2 separate regions of the Homo sapiens genome follow, and region 2 is linked to region 1. Evidence: promoter capture Hi-C in human tissues and cell types (Jung and others, 2019). All regions are on one chromosome and are shown on one strand. The core of a region is centred on a gene start or on the middle of the fragment in contact, and the rest is flanking DNA. Distances in the headings are between cores, read along the strand shown. Region 1 holds the start of NMUR1 (neuromedin U receptor 1). Region 2 overlaps PSMD1 (proteasome 26S subunit, non-ATPase 1).

Region 1 (5,307 bases), core at 271-2,770:
CCTGGCCGCACTGCCATTGCAAGCCATGGGGTTCCTTGCACCCCCTGGGTACAGGTCTCCAGGGAGGACAGAGCAATTGAGGCAGAGAGGAGTCTGTGGAACAGAGGGGAGAGATGCCCAGAAAGATCATTCAGGGAATGCTGGCTCTGTCCTCACTCATCAAGCCAAAGGTGACATTAGCGCTATGATGACCATTATTTTAGGCACCACTGAGAAAGAAAAAACTCTTCCATCCACAAGTCAGAGATGTAAAAATAAGCTTGGTGCAGTGGCTCACACCTGTAATCCCAACACTTTGGTCGAGGCAGGCGGATCACTTGAGATCAGGAGTTCAAGACCAGCCTGGCCAATATGGTGAAACCCCGTCTCTACTAACAATACAAAAAGTAGCCGGGCGTGGTAGCACACGCCTGTAATTCCAGCTACTTGGGAGGCTGAGGCGGGAGAATTGTTTGAACCCAGGAGACAGAGGTTGCAGTGAGCGGAGATTGTGCCACCGGACTCCAGCCTGGGCAACAGAGAAAGACCTTGTCTCAAAAAAACAAAAAGCAAACAACGAAAAAGTAAAAATCTACATTTAAAAAAAAAAAAACACGTGGGGTTTTGATTTTAAATTTCATGATCTATTGGAACCTTTGAGTAAATGACAGATCTTGGGTGTCTCCTCTTTCAAGCAATGATGCTAGATGAGGCACTCGTTTGGGCATCTGTAAAATGGGCACAATGCCTGGTATTGCAGGGTCTTCAAGAGCAAGCGCTCAGGAAGCAACTGCCTGGATTCGAATCCAGCCTCCCCAGTTCCAGGCTGTGTGACCTTTAGCGAGGTAACCTCTCTGAGGCTGTTTCCCTATTAGGAGGATCCAGGGAGTTTAATCCATTAAAGACATTAACACAGGGCCTGCCTGGCATACGGAAGGGCACGGGGATCACCCCCTTGCTCTGGGGACCCAGTCACTATGAGAGTCAAGTGAGGGAGTGTCAAGGCTACACACTACAAATGCTTCATCCACAAGTTGATTCTTTTTTCTGTTTTCTGTCACCTGAACTGTTCAGTCTCCATATTTGACGCCCTTGGCACTGCCAGTTCTGGGGTTCCCTCTCCTCTATTGAGCCCCACACCCTTCCTCCCGCCCGCCCTCACCCCCGCTGCACAGCAGCGCGGGAGCCTCGGGAACCAGTTGGGAACGCGCAGGCGCCAGCCCGGGTTCAAGGGAGGCGCCCTGGTCCTCGAGGAAGGGTCGCAAGCCCGCAGCCCCCCGGCGCCCCTGGCCGGAAGACACAAATGACCCGAGAAGTTGCGAGGCTCCCCGGTGGCGGGGACGGGGGGCACCCCGACGGAGCCCTCGGACCCTTCCCGCCCTAGGACGACCCTGCCCGCACCGAGCCCCGGCCCAGCTGCCGCGCCCTAGCCCACGCCGGCGCCTGCGCACCTACCATGCGGCCCGCGGCCCGCGAGACCCCGGCTTCCACCCTCCGAGCGACGGACACAGACGCGGCGCGGGAGCCAGTGGACTGACTGACAGCGGCCCCAGCCCGCGCCCCGACGCCCCGCCTGTCCGGCCGGGAACGCCGCCAGGGGGCAGTGCAGTCCCCGCAGCCCGGGCGGCGCCCCCTCCCGCACTGGCGGAGGACGCGGCCGTTGGAGGCGACACCTCCACAAGCAGCGTGGAGGCGACACCTCCACAAGCAGCGTTATCTGACGGAACCCTCACAACAACCCGTTTTACAGATGAGAAAACTGAGCCTCAGAGAGCCGCAGAGGAGGAGCCCGAGAGACCTGGGGCTCACATGTGATTCCCGCCCTCCAGCGTGCTGAGTTTAGCTTAACGCCGTCACGGTGTCCCTGCGGCCTCCAGCTCCTCCTGCCCCCCATTCAGACCCACCTCCAAGGACAGGGACGGCCCACCAGCCCCTTGAAGTCGACATGCCCCGGTGCGGTTCATCCTCCCAGGCTCCAGGCCTCTTCTTCTGTCCCAAGGCCCATGATTGCAGCCTCCGCAGCCCCTCTCACCCGCTGCTCCCTTCGGGGCCTCCAGTCCCTGAGTCCAGGCGCTCGGCCCTGCAGGACTGGGCAAGAGCCCCCTATTCTCCCTCCAGTCCATCCTCCCACAGCCACCAACGACCATCACCCCCTCGAAACCCTTCCTTGGGGCCCCCCCACTGCCTTCTGAAAAAGAGCACACCAAAGTCTAGCCTGGGGGTGGACCTCCCCACTCCTCACCTGCCTCCCTGGGCCACCCTCTCCTCACCATTGTCCTCAGCCCCAAATACTGTCCCCCTTATCCGTTCAAATGTTCTTCTGCCCCCATCACTGTACCAAGGGTGGGGGTATAGACAAGGATGGAGGGAATTTAGGGAAGGGTTAAGAATGCCCAGCCACAGCCTCCTGCTCCCCCACACTGCCCACATGCAAATCCCAGTGCCTCACCTGCTCCCACTCCCTAGTCCTGCAATCAGCTCCTTAGCTGGAAGCTGTTTCATCAGAAACTTCTAGGGACCCTAGAAATGACGGATCACACAGAGTAAAATGCTGGTTCCGGGGCCTTTGCCCAGAGTTTTGTCTCCTTAGCCTGGGCAAGGCCCAGAAATCCTCATGTTTGACAAACGCCCTCTGGAGAGCCCCATGCCCCAGAATCACACTGAGGAGCACCAGGAGAGGTTACAAAGCCACAGGACCCCGAGAGGCCACCGTGAGCTCAGAAGCTCTGTGTGCCTCAGTTCCCCTTCCTGTAGAATGGGCTAACCACCATCGCCACTATTGTGAAGGTGACATGAGACACTGAGCGTCAAGATTCAGCACAGGGGCTGGCACATGGCCAACACTCAAGAAATGTGGGGTGGGATTGTCACCATTTAGTGGCAACTGGAGGCTCCTCCTTCCCCCCGCTTTCCTGCACCCTCCTCCTCCCCACTGCCCCCCAATTCCATAAGTCACTGTCTGGGCTTGGGGATGGGAGTTAGGCCCTCAAGGAGCCTGCACCAGGCCGGCCTTCCCAGGAACTCCACATGTAAACAGAGTCCCAGGCAGGGGACGGTTGTGGGAAGTGCAGGGGCACGTGGTCCTCAGGGCCTTGGGAGAAAGGATTCTGTGGTGCCCTGGGAATTAACTACTCAGCCCCTGATGAGCTAGTCCAGGAGAAATCCTCAGTAACAGGGCTGCCAGCACAACAGACGGGCAAGGAGGGATGACATCACTCAGCATCAGAGACCACTGTGGCATCACAGGCTGCTCTTAGCAAGTGAGGAGCATTTGGACCCCAGCCCTTCACTGGAACACACACACACACGCACATGCATGTACACACACATACACACACATGCATGCACACATCACTCTGCACATACCACACCACACACACGCGCACACACATACCACTCTGCACAGACTCTGAGCAGTCCGAAAGTCCCCGTGGACCCTTTGGTTCACACAGCCCTGGAGGGGATGGGGAAGGACCCACCTAGCCTTGCAGAGGCAGAATGACTCTTGCCAGTCAGGAATTCCTACAGCGGGTTGCATCATTCACATAACATTAGCAGCCATCAAAGGCTAAAGAGCAGCCCCCAAAAAGGAGAGGCTCAGTGGCCACAATGGCTGTGGCCCTCACTTCCGCACTGTGCAGAGGGCCCTAGGGGCCCTGGCCTCCGGGCCTGAGCTCAAGGCCACCACGGTAGTGTCCCATCAGAAACGTATGACATCCTGCTGCTCCTGCTCCGTCCTGAGGTGGCACCCCCCAGTTTTCTGGGTGTACACATCCATCTAAGCTTGGCTGGTGGGCGTCTGCCCAGATGAGGGGGCCAAGGACCCAACTCTGCACAACAGCAAATGCATTCAGGGAGGGCCACTGGGACCTCCAGGAGCTGCTGAGATACCACCCAAGTCCCAGGCGTGTGCAGGACTCATGGGGCCAGAGGCATGTGAGTAGCTCCGTATCCCCTCCTCATCCTGCTGAGTCCCTGAGAGCCAAGAGGGGCTGCTTAAACTCAGGCCAGGCTTAAACCAGAACCTTCTCAGCCTTGGGCTGACCCGCAGCTCCTGGCAAGCCCATGGTTCCCCCAGAAACGCCCCAACCCCACCCCACTTACTGCCTACAGAGGGGAGGCAGGGAGGATGAGATGAGCTTGGGGACACTGTAGCTCTGGACAGGAGGGAGGCACTGTTCTGCAGCCTGGGCAATGGGGATCACCCAGGACCCCCATCACTAGGCTTCATTGGGCAAACATGGAGAACAAGAACAGTAAATATCCGAAGCAAGGGAGAGTCGCTGTACCCATCTGGGCACCTCCCAAGGTCAGAGAGCTCCCTACCCAGCTCTGCTCTGTGGGGTCCCAGCCTGGCCATGGCCAGGAGCTAGAGGAGGATGGTCTGGGCCCCTCAGGTGATGGGGTTCCGAACTTGGGGGCTGGGATTGCACCTCAGGGAGCCACGTGGCTTTTGTGTGATCATGCACCCATGCTCCCTGAGCCACCAGCCCTGGTCTGCTCACAGAAACTGGTGGGAGAGATGGTCAAGCCAGGCAGGGAACATGGTGAGTACAGGCTTTGGAGGCTGTGAGGCCAGAGTGAGACTCCGCATTCTGCCAGCGTGGCCTCAGATAAGCCACTTTGCGCTTCAGGCCTCAGCTTCTTTGCCTGTAAAACACAAACATAGCCCCTGTCCTTCAGGGATGCCATGAGGATTAAGAGTGATAATGTGGGTTTAAGCACTCAGTGCAGGGTTGAAGAGCCTGGAATTCTCTGGAAGATACCAGAAAGCTGCTGGGAGGCAGGGCTGGGGTGGGAGCTGTCCTTAGTAGGGTTTGGAAGGGCAAGGTCCCCAGCACCCCGGGAAGGAGAGCTGAGTCCCAGTGGAAAGGAGCACACAGGCTTGCAGGGAGCCCAGCCACAGTGCAGGCAGTCGGGGCCCTGCAGCCCGGTGGGGACCAGCAGCGGAGGAGACCTCCGGGGAGCATCGCCCCTGCCTCTCCTGCTCCTAGAGGGGACCACTGGGGACTGTCTAGCCCCTTGCCCCCTGAGGGCTGTGAGGCCTGTTCCTGAGCTCTCCCAGAGACAGCCAGCTCACAGGCTTCAGGCAGGGTGCTGGGCACAGGGAGCCGGTCACCTCCTCACAGGGGCTCAGCCTGTGTACCAGGCCCCAACCTCCGCTTGTGGCCAAAGGGAGGACATGTTCAAGTCACACAGTGAGAAGGCCAGAAAAAGCCTGTGTCTCTCATGTCTAGGGCCTGTGTGTCCCTCATGCCACCCTGGACTGGGGCCAGATCTTATTGTGTGCCCACAGGGTGCTCCTGGCACCTACTCCTCCAAGCAATA
Region 2 (5,555 bases), core at 114-2,613, 400 kb before region 1:
ATACAGTTCTCAATGAATAGCAGTAAGTTGATGGCAGCTCACTCATACTGCAAGACTTTTCTTAGTTTGCTGATTAGAAATGAAAACAAGTGTGCTAATAATGCTGCAACTTTGAATATTACAGATTTCTGTAGGTCCAGGAATGCAATCTGAGATTTTTAAGAGCTCTATTTATTATGGTGACACAGCAATTTCTTTGTATAAGGCTTGTGACTCTTCTTACATCTTTAAAATTCCCTCCCTCGCCCATTTTAGCAGCACCTGAAAAGTATTAGTCTTTTTGGAAATGTACCAAAAGCTTGCCTAAAAGTATACTAATTTTTAGTTTTCTGAAGTCCAGGAAGATGACAACAAATAAATTCTCTTTCACTGAATTTGTAACATTTATGGCACAGTCTGTGTGGTTTTGTTTTTTGCTTTTCCTTGTGGTAAGTTATATGTATTCACTATATACTAAACTGATAAGAGTTAAAAGCTACAAATAGCAGTAGCTTAGAATATGGAGGTACGAAGAACAAAAGTATGTTTGGGAAAGAAAATTGTTTTCTTTCTCAGCTTTTTCCCTGAAAATGTTTTATGCCACAAAATTCAAAAAAGCATAATATATTTCCCCTACTTTTTTGTTTTTTACCTGTAATGGCACTGTTTGTTTGTTTTCGAGACGGAGTCTCACTCTGTCACCCAGGCTGGAGTGCAGTGGCACTGTGTCAGCTCACTGCAACCTCTGTCTCCCGGGTTTAAACAGTTCTCCTGCCTCAGCCTCCCAAGCAGCTGGGATTACAGGCGCCCACCAGCACGCCCAGCTAATTTTTATATTTTTAGTAGAGACGGGCTTCACTGTGTTGGCCAGGCTGGTCTCAAACTCCTGACCTCAGGTGAGCCACCACACCCGGCCAATGGCACTGTTGTTTCTTTTATTATTATTACAAGTTGTATGAACTAGCCAAAGAATAAAATAAAGGAGAACAAGAAAAGTTCCTCAGATTCCCACAACATGTAGCTCTGTCGTTGAGTACACATGCAGCTGGCAAATTTATAATTGTCTAAGTAAATATACTTTTTTCTGTAAATATACTTTTAAATAACATATCAAAACATGTGAAAGAGCTAAGTTATAGGTAACACATTCTATGCTAATAAAATTGTCTACCAAGTATTGATTTCTTTCCTCTCCACTGCCCTTCCCTAAAATAAAGTCCAGTGTTTTTCCTGTGACTTGACCATTTCTCAACATTTAGTTTTCTAAATACGTTGTTTTGTTTTGTTTTGTTTTTTGAGACAAGGCATCACTCTGTTGCCCAGGCTGTAGTGCAGTGGTGTGATCTCAGCTCACTGCAGACTTGACTTCCTGGGCTCAAGTGATCCTCCCAAGTAGCTGAGACTACAGGCATGCACCTCCATCCCCGGCTAATTTTTGTATTTTTTGTAGAGATGGGGTTTCGCGGGAATGCCAAGGCTGGTCTTGAACTCCAGGGTTCATGCAATCAGTCCTCCTGCCTCGACTTCCCAGAATGCTGGGATTACAGGCATGAGTTACTGTGCTTGGCCAGTTTTTCTAAATATGTTTATGGAGACATAGAAATAAGCTTTATTGCTGATTAAGGATTAGTCATTTAAATACTTTGTTATAAATGCTGATCCAAGGTATTATAAGAAACTGGAGGAATTATTTCGTGATGTTATCTAGAAGGCAAATGTTTATACTGAAGAAAGATTTAGGGAGTGTCAGAATTATTGAAAATAACTGAAAGAAAGCCTAGTGGATTGTTACTAATGATTTAATGTATTTTCTTTTAACCTGTAGGTTCTCTCTTCATCTCTTGCCTTGCCCTCTTTTTCTTTGTTTTCTTCCTCCTTGCAGTTTATTTGTTGAAGAAACCAGTTATCTCTGTTTTGTTTCCCATGGTATGAATTTTGCTGAGTGCATCTTTACATGTAGTTTAATGTGTTGTTTGGTCCTTCACATTTCCTGTAAATTGACAGTTGAATCTACAAGCTTGATCACATTCACATTTTTTTTAGGGTGGTGGGGCTGGCGGTACACACAGTTATTTCCATTTTCATGATGTTAGCAGTCGTTGATAATCATGCTGCGATCTATTCATTATATGTTACAAAATGGTGATATAATTTTATCATTTATTAACTGTTCCTTTAAAAGTTTATATCATATATCTCTGTGTGTATATATAAAGATTAATGTGCAGGAGTTTTGCTTTCAGTGAATGTTTGCATTCCAATCATTGCTTAGAAAGTTTTTTTGCCCTTGCCGGGCGCGGTGGCTCACGCCTGTAATCCCAGCACTTTGGGAGGCCGAGGCGGGCGGATCACGAGGTCAGGAGATCGAGACCATCCCGGCTAAAACGGTGAAACCCCGTCTCTACTAAAAATACAAAAAATTAGCCGGGCGTAGTGGCGGGCGCCTGTAGTCCCAGCTACTTGGGAGGCTGAGGCAGGAGAATGGCGTGAACCCGGGAGGCGGAGCTTGCAGTGAGCCGAGGTCCCGCCACTGCACTCCAGCCTGGGCGACAGAGCGAGACTCCGTCTCAAAAAAAAAAAAAAAAAAAAAAAAAAGAAAGTTTTTTTGCCCTTTTAGAGTTGCCTGCTGAAACATTGAAATAAACATATAAGAATATTATGGTTTTACTGTACTCTTGAAAAGATTGAATGTCTAAACTAATTTAATAAAGAATTTCTCATTTCTTGTCTTAACACTTGTTTTTTCTAAAGAATGTGTCAGAGTTGGAACTGTTGTTAGATTGAGACACTGTCAGGTTTTTTATATGCTTTTGAGTTTATAGCCTTCACAGCCTATTTCAGTCTTTATTGCAATTAACTAGGTAAAGTTCTGCATTAGGCTCCTGGTATTTATGTTCTCAGGCAAAATTTTTTCTAAACCTCATGGAATTGTTAGTGCCTTTTGGGAAGCAAAACTTAAGTCTAACTTCTATCCCCTTTCAGAAAACTTTTCTACTAAAGAAAAGAACTTGAGTTTTGTGGTTGGTTTAAGAATAGTATATATGTTATATTTTATTTACTCTTTTATAACAAGTAAAAATGACAAAATAAATGAAATGTTGACAGATTTTAGGATAAGCTCTTTCCTGTGAGTCAGTTTTCCCTGGAATATCCTGCCCTTGCAGCCAAGGGGTAACTTGATAAGTATCCTGCATGCCATTAGTTCCCTAACAAGTTGATGACGAAATTCTGGAGGTCTGAACCCTAAATATAACCAGCTTTCTAGGTTTAATATTCAGCTTGTTTTATATTTTGATAAACCTTTGGACATCAAATGTTAGTAGCCAAAGTTCTGGTTCTGATCCAAAGCCAGTTTCTGGTTATGCATCTAGATTTCAGTGATGGTAGTATGGTATTTTCCTCTACCACTCCACCGACTCTCCCCAGCATACATAAGGAGGAGCAGGTATTGTTTTATGGATAAGGCAATTAAGGCTCAGAGAAATTTAGTGATTGTCACCCTGCTAATAAATGGCAGCACTAGAATTGGAATCCAGGTCTTTCTGATTCTAAGCCTCTGTTCTGTCTACCACAACAAATGGAAGAGAGGTCAAGAAAAGAGATCCTTTAAGGAATCACTATGTTATTTCCAGTGAGAGGTGATAGGAACTGAAACAAGGCAATTGGAAACAGAAGTAAGATTTAAGGGGTTCTCTTGACTTGGCGGCAGATTATATGTGGAGAGTGAGGGAACAGAATGATTAAAGATACGAGTTTCCTAGGTATGTCAATGAATTGTCATGGTGGGAAGAGAAGCAACTTGGAGAGGGATGCCCTTTTTTATTCCTTTCTTTGTGGGTTTTTAAATGTTGATTGAGGTTTGTGGTATACTTGGTTAAAGATTTCCAATAGGCACTTAGAATTTCAGATTACTACTCAGATTATTTGGAATCTGTTGTTAGAGAGTACAAGGGAATTAAATAGAGACAGATATATTCTTTTTTTGAGACAGTGTCTCACTCTGTCGCCCAGCCTCCTGAGTAGCTGAGACCACAGATGCGCGCCACCACACCCGGCTAATTTTTGTAGTTTTTGTAGAGACGGGGTTTCACCATGTTAGCCAGGCTAGTCACGAAATCCTGGACTCAAGCAACGGGGGCAGATATATTCTTAATTGCTGTGTATTGAGTTAATCCTCTAACACTGTGGCACTTACCTAATGAGAATTATAAATTCATAATTCTGCTAAGGGACTATCCTGAGGCTTAAAGCCTGAAAAATTCCCTCTGAATTCTTACCTAGCATTATAGGCACATGGCCACAAAGGTGGTTTTCCCAGGGCACAGTTTGTCCATTGCACTTTGGATGAGCTGACCCCTTGATGTGTCTAAATGTGGAAAATTTGATTGCATAATTTATGGTATTGGGGGATGGGGGACTGCTTTCAGGTAGTTCCCTGGGGTCAGGGGGGAAGAATTCCCTCTGTGATAGCCCCATTTAGAATAGTGTTTCTGCCTATCTATGTATATTGCTGTTTTTCCTCCTTTAGTAAAGATGGATTAGAGGGGGAAAAGAAAGACACCATATTCTTGAAAGCATCTTGATTTATTAGTGATTTAATGTTGAGGTTGCACAAAATATTCATAAAGAAATAGTATTTAAAAGCCAGTGTGTTGAAAGAAAGGAATTCATATGTGCAGTTTATGGTCCAATGATATGGCAGTGACTTATGCATATGCCCTTGCACAATTCCTGCTCTGTGGAAGGCTTGTACAAATAGTAACATTGGCAAGATGACTGTTAGTTACAAACCAAGAAATTTTATTGAAACAACAAATTAGAATGTAGTTAGCTTATTTTGGTGTGCGTTTCATTTTTTAAAGCAGAAAATTACAACTTTTTTTCATTAAAAATTGAATTACATACTTAGGATTAAAGCAAAGTTTTTACTTACTGCTGCCTATTATATTATACCTTATGATGAACCAGAAGTATAGTAATACTAAAGAGCAACAAAGTTGTTTTTCATTTTCTTTACATGATAATTGTATAAACTAGGTTTTAAAGCCTTGGGATACATTCCCTCATGTTACATTTAAAGATTCGACTCCCAAAATTCTGTGTTATCTGTGTGTTTAGAGGGGCAGGAGGAAGGAGACTCTGATCCAAAAAAGATTTAGAACCGCTGTATCAGACAATTGGCAGATAGTCACATAACTAAGTCCCGAGCGAGCCTAAACCAAGACCCAGTTTTTCCAAATGTTTGTTATTGTCTAAACCTACTGTGTCGTGTATAATAATCACTCAATAAATATGACTGACTAGACCCAGCCACCAGGTCTTAAGAAAGATAGAGAGGGTTCTTCAGAAAGCTCTGATTCCTGCCATGCACCCAAGTGGTTATTATGCTAGTAGTCCTGATTTTTTATTTCTAGTGTTATCTTCATTATTCCTCTACACAAAATCAATATGGTTTTTCTACCTACTTTTCCTCAAGCTTGTTTCTCACATTCCAGTGTTCATTCCTTTCCAACAACATTTATCCCTCTGCTATCAGAATTGTGCCCATTCAAGACTCAATTAGCCTTAGAAAGAAA

The links. The method cuts DNA at HindIII sites, captures the fragments that hold promoters and counts their contacts. A contact is called where the count stands out against the background at its distance.
Region 2: a contact is called between a fragment that was not itself captured here and the fragment with the promoter of NMUR1 in region 1, in 1 of the 25 tissues and cell types used here (pancreas).

The regions. Positions count from the first base shown.
Region 1 is chr2:231,528,925-231,534,231 of GRCh38, forward strand. NMUR1 (neuromedin U receptor 1) reads right to left here and starts at 1,521. Exons shown (of 3, transcript NM_006056.5): 1 at 1,435-1,521; 2 at 1-93. The coding sequence starts at 1,437. LOC105376787 (a long non-coding RNA gene) reads left to right here and starts at 3,246. Exons shown (of 4, transcript XR_001739928.2): 1 at 3,246-3,915. RefSeq lists a silencer at 1,349-1,778 and an enhancer at 2,473-3,207. The HindIII fragment of the contact is 18,375 bases long and covers 1-5,307 here.
Region 2 is chr2:231,129,214-231,134,768 of GRCh38, forward strand. All of the region lies in intron 16 of PSMD1 (proteasome 26S subunit, non-ATPase 1), which reads left to right. It also overlaps the pseudogene RNU1-93P. Among named protein-coding and RNA genes, the nearest start is that of HTR2B, 6.9 kb to the left of the region's middle. The HindIII fragment of the contact is 4,723 bases long and covers 1-3,725 here.